2 separate regions of the Homo sapiens genome follow, and region 1 is linked to region 2. Evidence: promoter capture Hi-C in human tissues and cell types (Jung and others, 2019). All regions are on one chromosome and are shown on one strand. The core of a region is centred on a gene start or on the middle of the fragment in contact, and the rest is flanking DNA. Distances in the headings are between cores, read along the strand shown. Region 1 has its middle 33 kb from the start of WT1. Region 2 holds the start of WT1 (WT1 transcription factor).

What was found. The method cuts DNA at HindIII sites, captures the fragments that hold promoters and counts their contacts. A contact is called where the count stands out against the background at its distance.
Region 1: a contact is called between a fragment that was not itself captured here and the fragment with the promoter of WT1 in region 2, in 1 of the 25 tissues and cell types used here (spleen).

What each region holds. Positions count from the first base shown.
Region 1 is chr11:32,466,916-32,469,954 of GRCh38, forward strand. No RefSeq gene overlaps it. Among named protein-coding and RNA genes, the nearest start is that of WT1, 33 kb to the left of the region's middle. The HindIII fragment of the contact is 7,158 bases long and covers 1-3,039 here.
Region 2 is chr11:32,433,891-32,437,338 of GRCh38, forward strand. It overlaps WT1 (WT1 transcription factor), which reads right to left and starts at 1,649. Exons shown (of 10, transcript NM_024426.6): 1 at 810-1,649. The coding sequence starts at 1,470. WT1-AS (WT1 antisense RNA) reads left to right here and starts at 1,628. Exons shown (of 5, transcript NR_120548.1): 1 at 1,628-1,956. RefSeq lists promoters at 1-112, 1,450-2,648, 1,450-2,100, 1,742-1,844, 2,748-3,084, enhancers at 1-582, 1,690-1,722, 3,386-3,448 and cis regulatory regions at 2,029-2,066, 2,051-2,177, 2,270-2,289. The HindIII fragment of the contact is 5,194 bases long and covers 1-2,589 here.

The DNA.
Region 1 (3,039 bases), core at 334-2,833, 33 kb after region 2:
GGCAGAAACCGCGATTACTTTTGTGCCAACCTAATAGGTCACATTTTTATTAAAGTTGCAAGTCCCAGCATCTAATACCAAAACATATTTCTGGACGTTTGTATTATTAGTGATTTAAATTTTCTCTTTGAGCTTTTTAAATATTCCAAATTGTCTACAATGAGCATGTATTTCTTTTACATATTTTTAAAAAAGGCTTTTCAAAAAGTAATTCCTAACTATAACATGTTTTAGGAGAAAATCTTCAGGATTTAGGGCTTCAGCAAGAAAAACACAACACCAAGAAGTACAATCTATAAAAGAAAAAATCAGTAGATTCAACGTTATAAAAATTAAAAAACAGCCGGGCGCGGTGGCTCACGCCTGTAATCCTACCACTTAGGAATGCCAAGGCGGGTGGATCACCTGAGATCAGGAGTTCAAGACCAGCCTGGCCAACATAGTGAAACCCCGTCTCTACTAAAAATACAAAAAAGTAGCCGGGCATGGTGGTGCATGCCTGTAATCCCAGCTACTCAGGAGGCTGAGACAGGAGAATCGCTTGAACCTGGGAGGCATAGGTTGCAGTGAGCCAAGCTTGCACCCCTGCACTCTAGCCTGGGCGACAGCCTCTACCCTGTCTAGTTTGCACTCTAGCCTGTCTCAAAAACTAACCAAATAAATAAAAATAAAAAACTTTTGCTCTGGGAAAGACCTTGTTAAGAGGATGAAGAGACAAACTACAGGCTCAGAGAAAATATTTGCAAACCACACATTCTGACAGAGGACTTTACAGTAGATATATATATATATAATCTACAATATATAAGTAACTCAAAATTCAGCAGTGAAAACAATCTAATTAGAAAACAGACAAAAGATATGAAAAGGATTCGCTGAAGAGCACATGATAAGCTATTCAACATCCACATCACTATCGTTAGGGAAATGTAAATTAAGACCATGAGGAGCTATCACCCTTTACACCAGCTAAATTTTAAAATAGTGATGGCTTTTGGGAAGCTGACGTGGGAGGATTGCTTGAGCTCAGGAGTTCAAGACCAGTCCCGGTAACATAGGGAGACCCCATCCCTAGAAAAAATAAAAATAAAATAAAATAATAGAAGTAGTGATGGCAAGGATGCAGAGAAACTGAGTCACTCATGCATTGCTCGTGGAGTATAATATGGCACAGCCACCCTGGAAACTGATTTGGCAGTCTTCCTTTCTTAAAATTAAACTTAATTTTTTTGAGATGGGGTCTTTGTCTGTTGCCCAGGCTGGAATGCAGTGGCACAACCACGGCTCACTGCAGCCTCAACCTCCCAAGCTCAAGTGATCCTCCCATCTCAGCCTCCTGAATAGCTGGGACCACAGCCACATGCCACCAAGCCCAGCTTATTTTATCTTATTTTTTTTTTAGAGAGAAGGTCTCACTGTGTTGCCCAGGCTGGTCTTGAACTTCTGGGTTCAAGCTAGCTTGCCACCTTGTCCTTCCAAAGTGCTGGGACTATAGGCGTGAGCCACTGTGACTGGCCTAGCAATTTCTTAAAAAACTAAACATATGATTACCACATGACCCAGCAACTGTACTCTTGGGCATTTATCCCAGAAAAATAACACTTACATCTACCAAAAAACCTGCACATGAATGTCCATAGTAGCTTTATTTGTAAAAGCCCAAATCTAGCAACAACTGAAATATCCTTCAAGAGGTAAATAATTAGGCAAACCATGGTACATCCATACCATAGAATACTATTCAGCAATAAAAAAAGGCCAACCCTATTGACATGCACAACAAGCTGCATGGACTTCAGGGGTATTATGCCAGTGAAAAAAGCCCATCTCAAAAGGTCACATTCTATATGATTTCATTTACAGAACCATCTTGAAATGACAAAATCACAGAGATGTAGAACAGATGGGCATCTACCCAGTTAGGATTGGTGGGGAGGAGGACAATGGGTTATTATTATTATTTTGAGACTCACTCTGTTGCCCAGGCTAGAGTGCAATGGCATGCTCTCGGCTCACTGCAAGCTCTGCCTCCTGGACTCAAGCGATTCTCCTGCTTCAGCCTCCCAAGTAGTTGGGATTACAGGTGCCCGCCACCACATCCTGCTAATTTTTGTATTTTTAGTAGAGACGGGTTTCACCATGTTGGTCAGGCTGGTCTCGAACCCCTGACCTCAGGTGATCCACCCGCCTCGGCCTCCCAAAGTGCTGGGATTACAGGTGAGAGCCACCATGTCCAGCCAGCAATGGGTTATTCTAATGGAATAGACTGAGGAAGCTCTTCGTGGTGATGGAATAGTTTTATGTCTTTACTGCAGTGGTGATTACACAATCTGCACCTGTGAGTGGCATAGAACTATACATATACATTGTATCAATGGTGACTTCCTGGTTTTCATTCTACTATAGTTATGCAAGATTGTAAGGGCGGGGAGTCGGGGGGGTGGGGGGTGGTGGGAACTGAAGGTACACAGGACTTCTCTGTACTATCTTTGCAACTTCCTGCGAATCTATAATTGTTTCAAAATTAAAGAGTGCTTTTAAAAAGCAATTCATCCATATGTAGAAAATTTGGTATATGCAGAAAAATAGAAAGAATGATAGCTTTAAAATTCATAAGCTCTTTGATATTCATTTCATAATGCTGGAATGTATTGCTTAATTTTTGTTTTTTATTTTTCTGAGGTAAAATTCACATAACATAAGACAACATTTAATGCATTTTTTTTTTTAAGAAGCAGGGTCTCTGTTGCTCAGGCTGGAGTGCAGTGGCACAAACAGTTCACTGTAGCCTCGAACTCCTAGGCTCAAGGGATCCTTTCACATCAGCCTCCCAAGGAGTAGGTGGGACTTCAGGCATGCACCACCATGCGCAGCTAATTTTTTTTTTTTTTAAGAGATAAGTGTCTCACTACCAGTTGCCTAGGCTTGTCTTGAACTCCTGGCCTCAAGCTGTTCTCTTGCTTCAGCCTCCCAAATTGCTGAAATTACAGGCGTAAGCCTCCTCACCTGGCTCACTTTAAGCATTTTAAAATGTACAAT
Region 2 (3,448 bases), core at 399-2,898:
GAAGAGGCGCCCCAGATGCGCTGAAAGAAAGGCCAAAGCTCGTGCCTCCTTCCACTGCCTGCGGTAGAACCTGGTCCCGCATAGCTTGGACTCGGATAAGTCAAGTTCTCTTCCATCCCCAGAACCTGCGTGGCCGCCGCCTGAGCGAAGCCCAGTGAAGATCCACTTCTGTATTACCATACGCGGGAGCTATCCACGGACACGACGCTGTTCCAGAAAGCCATTTAGTTACTGGAGGTGCATGTGCTCATTCTAGTTCTCTACGATACTTAATGTGCACCTAAGTGTGTGCCAACACCGTATTATAAGGGCTGGAGGTGCTCCTGGACATTTTAGCGCTGCGGAGGCAGCACAGCACAGGCGCTCACCCCCGCGCTGGTCCCACTCCGAATCCAGAGTCCAGACGTCTGAAAAGCGCTACGCTTGGTGACAATTTGGCGTTTCCTTAATTAACAAAACTCTCCCCAAGGCAGAGCCAGACACTGCGCCGGTCTCCTGGTTCCACTCCCGTGGGGACTAGCAGTCCCGGAATCTCTCGGACTCTAAGGGGCCCCAGACGCCCTCCCGGCTCTTGCGAACAGTCAGGCTCCTAGCTCTGCCTGGCTTTGGAGGATGTCGGGGGCCAGTGCCTGCGTGCACTCCCACTCTCCGGCCTCCTCCCCAGCCGCCGCTTCCGCTATCCTCACGGCCCTTGGGAAGCAGCTGGGTAAGAGCTGCGGTCAAAAGGGGTAGGAGAGGGGGGTGTCCTAGAGCGGAGAGTCCCTGGCGCCACTGCCCCGCGCGTAGGGGGCGCTCCCCGGCCTACTTACCCTGATTGCGAATAGCGGGCTGGCTCTCGAGGCAGCTGGGCAGGTAGGGCGCGTTAGGAAACATCCTGGCCTGGCCGGATGACGCCTGGCTGGGCGGAGGAGGACCGAAGGGCCCGTAGCGACAGGCTCCGGCTGTGCCAGTGAACTGGCCGGAAAAGTGGACAGTGAAGGCGCTCAGGCACTGCTCCTCGTGCGGCTCCGCGCCGCCCCAGCTCGGCTCCTGTTTGATGAAGGAGTGAGGCGGCGGCGGCGGGGGTGGCGGCGGAGCCGGTGGCGGCGCGGGGCCGCCCAACGACCCGTAAGCCGAAGCGCCCGGGGGCGCAAAGTCCAGCACCGGCGCCCACTGCGCCGCGCCGCTCACAGGCAGGGCACAGCCGCCGCCGCCACCCAGGGAGGGGACGGCGGGCAGCAGCGCGTTCAGGTCCCGCACGTCGGAGCCCATTTGCTGCGGCTCAGACCCGGACGCCCCGCGGCTCCTCCGGCCCTGGAGACGTTCAGCGCTGGCCTCGGCGGCGCCTAACTTGGCCCAGATGCCGCCCGGGTCCCGGACTCCCTGCTGCTCTGGCTGCTGTAGGCACCCAGGCCCGGAGCGGAGCGTGTGCTGAGACGCCGGCTCCGGGACACACGTGGAAGCCGGGTCCTGCAGCAAGAGGAAGTCCAGGATCGCGGCGAGGAGACGGCGGGGCCCGGGCGCCTGGGCTGCCGTCCCGGCTCTGGGTGGGTGGGTGGGTGAATGAGTAGGTGGGAGGGAGGGCGGGAAGTGGGGGAGCGGACAGGCGGTCGGGTTGCGGAGAGCCCCCGGGTGTGGGCGCTGCCTTGAACTCCTTACCCCAGCTGCCTGGCTGCCCTCAGCTTCCCAAAGCTCAAATAAGAGGGGCCGGCGGCGCGGGGAAGAGGAGGAGCCAGGAGGCTCGGCCGCTCCATTCACTCAGCAGCCCAAGCCCGGCCAGGCAGCGCGCGCTGCTCCTTGGGGGCGCCCTCGCAGCTGGGGTGAGGGCGGGTCCGAGGGAGCGTCCCTCTCGGAGACACCCTCCTCTTCAACCCAACACGCGCTCTCAGCTGGCCGGTGTGGCACAACCCTCCCCCCACCTCCCCTTCTTGGCCTTCGCCAGTGTGGGAGCCTCGTCTCACTGGAGAGTCCGTTCAGGTAAGCAGTGAGTCCGGGCAGGGTCGAATGCGGTGGGAGTAGAGATGGGGTTGTTAATCTAAAAGAGTGGTTTGGAGGGAGGGGCAGGTAGGCTCCAAGAGGGCGGGAACTTCAGGAAAGCGCAGAAAGAACTCAGTCAAGCTTCAAAGAAGCGTATACCCTTGCTTTGCACCCTTGAGTCTGGCTCTTGCTTCTAGAACTGTCGGGTAGGGGAGTGGCCATGATCTTGGGGTCACTGGGGAAAGAGGTGGCCCTTTGTGGGTTCCAGAGGTCGGGACTGAAAGCGAACGTCCCTCAGTTGGGTGGCCGGGAGTTGCACCAGTTATAAGCCGGGCGTATTTCGATCGGCTAGTAGTTGTTTACTTGGTGAGGTTTGCGCCAGGCGGAAGGCGGTTGCCGCCTACCTAAAATTGGAGTCAGCAGCACTTAGTTTCCCTTTCCAGTGAGGAATATCTAATTCTTCTACGGTTAAGCCGGGAAAACAGCGGCTAGTTTAGGAGGGAAGAAAACCCTTGGGCAAACGCCCAAAGCCTGCGTATATTCCGGCCGGAGCATCCTGGCGCCCAGTTTGGGGAGGAGGGGTGAAGGGGAGGGTTTGGATACGAAGCCCGGCAGGGAGCGGGTAACTCCTGGAGCCACTCCGCCGAGCACTGCCTGTGGCCCTGGTCGAGGATACCATTCTGGTTGCTCAGTGATTGACCAGGAGGCGGAAGCCAGTTAAGGGGACCAAGGAGTGGAGTAGGGAGAACCTCCATCGGCCCACGGGCGCGAGTTAGTGTTCGAATCTTTGGGAGCTCGAAGAGCTTCGCTAAATCTGACTCCCTTCGTCTAGTCTCTGTTTGGCAGCCCCCGCGCCCCAGAGCAGGTGTTTGGGGCGGGTAGGGGGTGTTTTGGTTTGGTTTTTGGATCTTCTAAAGGAGTCAGTATCTATTGGGAAACAACCCCTAGGCAAGGAGAAGAACCGGGGGCCGGAGCGGAGCGTGTTTCAGAGGTGCGTATAAAATCCCAGGGGCGCCAGGAGGCAGCAGCGACGGCGCAGCGTGGGACGGCCAGGCGCGACGGGAGGGAAGCAACCGGTTGCAGTCCGGCCTCCTGTACCTGGCTGGCCCGGGCTGGGGCTGCAAGCTTTCCAGCCAAACTTATGTGAAGCAAAGTAGTTGCAGTTTGACAAAGAATGGCGTTTCAATAAATGACATAGTAATTTTTTACGCTTTGGTTTTTAGCTTGCATTGCATAAACGTTGTCGCCATTAAATTCTGGCTGCGGACCCGAAGTGTGTGCGGGCCCAGGACTTACTCGAAGGGCGCACTTCTTGGGAATGCGCATCCCGTAGGCGCAGGAGACCCTGAGGGTAAAGATGCGGCACTTGAGCCCTCCGCTTGCCTCCCAGGCCACCTTTGCTGCTTGACTTTGCGTCGTCTCCACTCAGAAGCTTTTAAAATTATTATTAAGAAAAGAAAGATTCTACAAGACACTGCCCCCACGCTCTCTG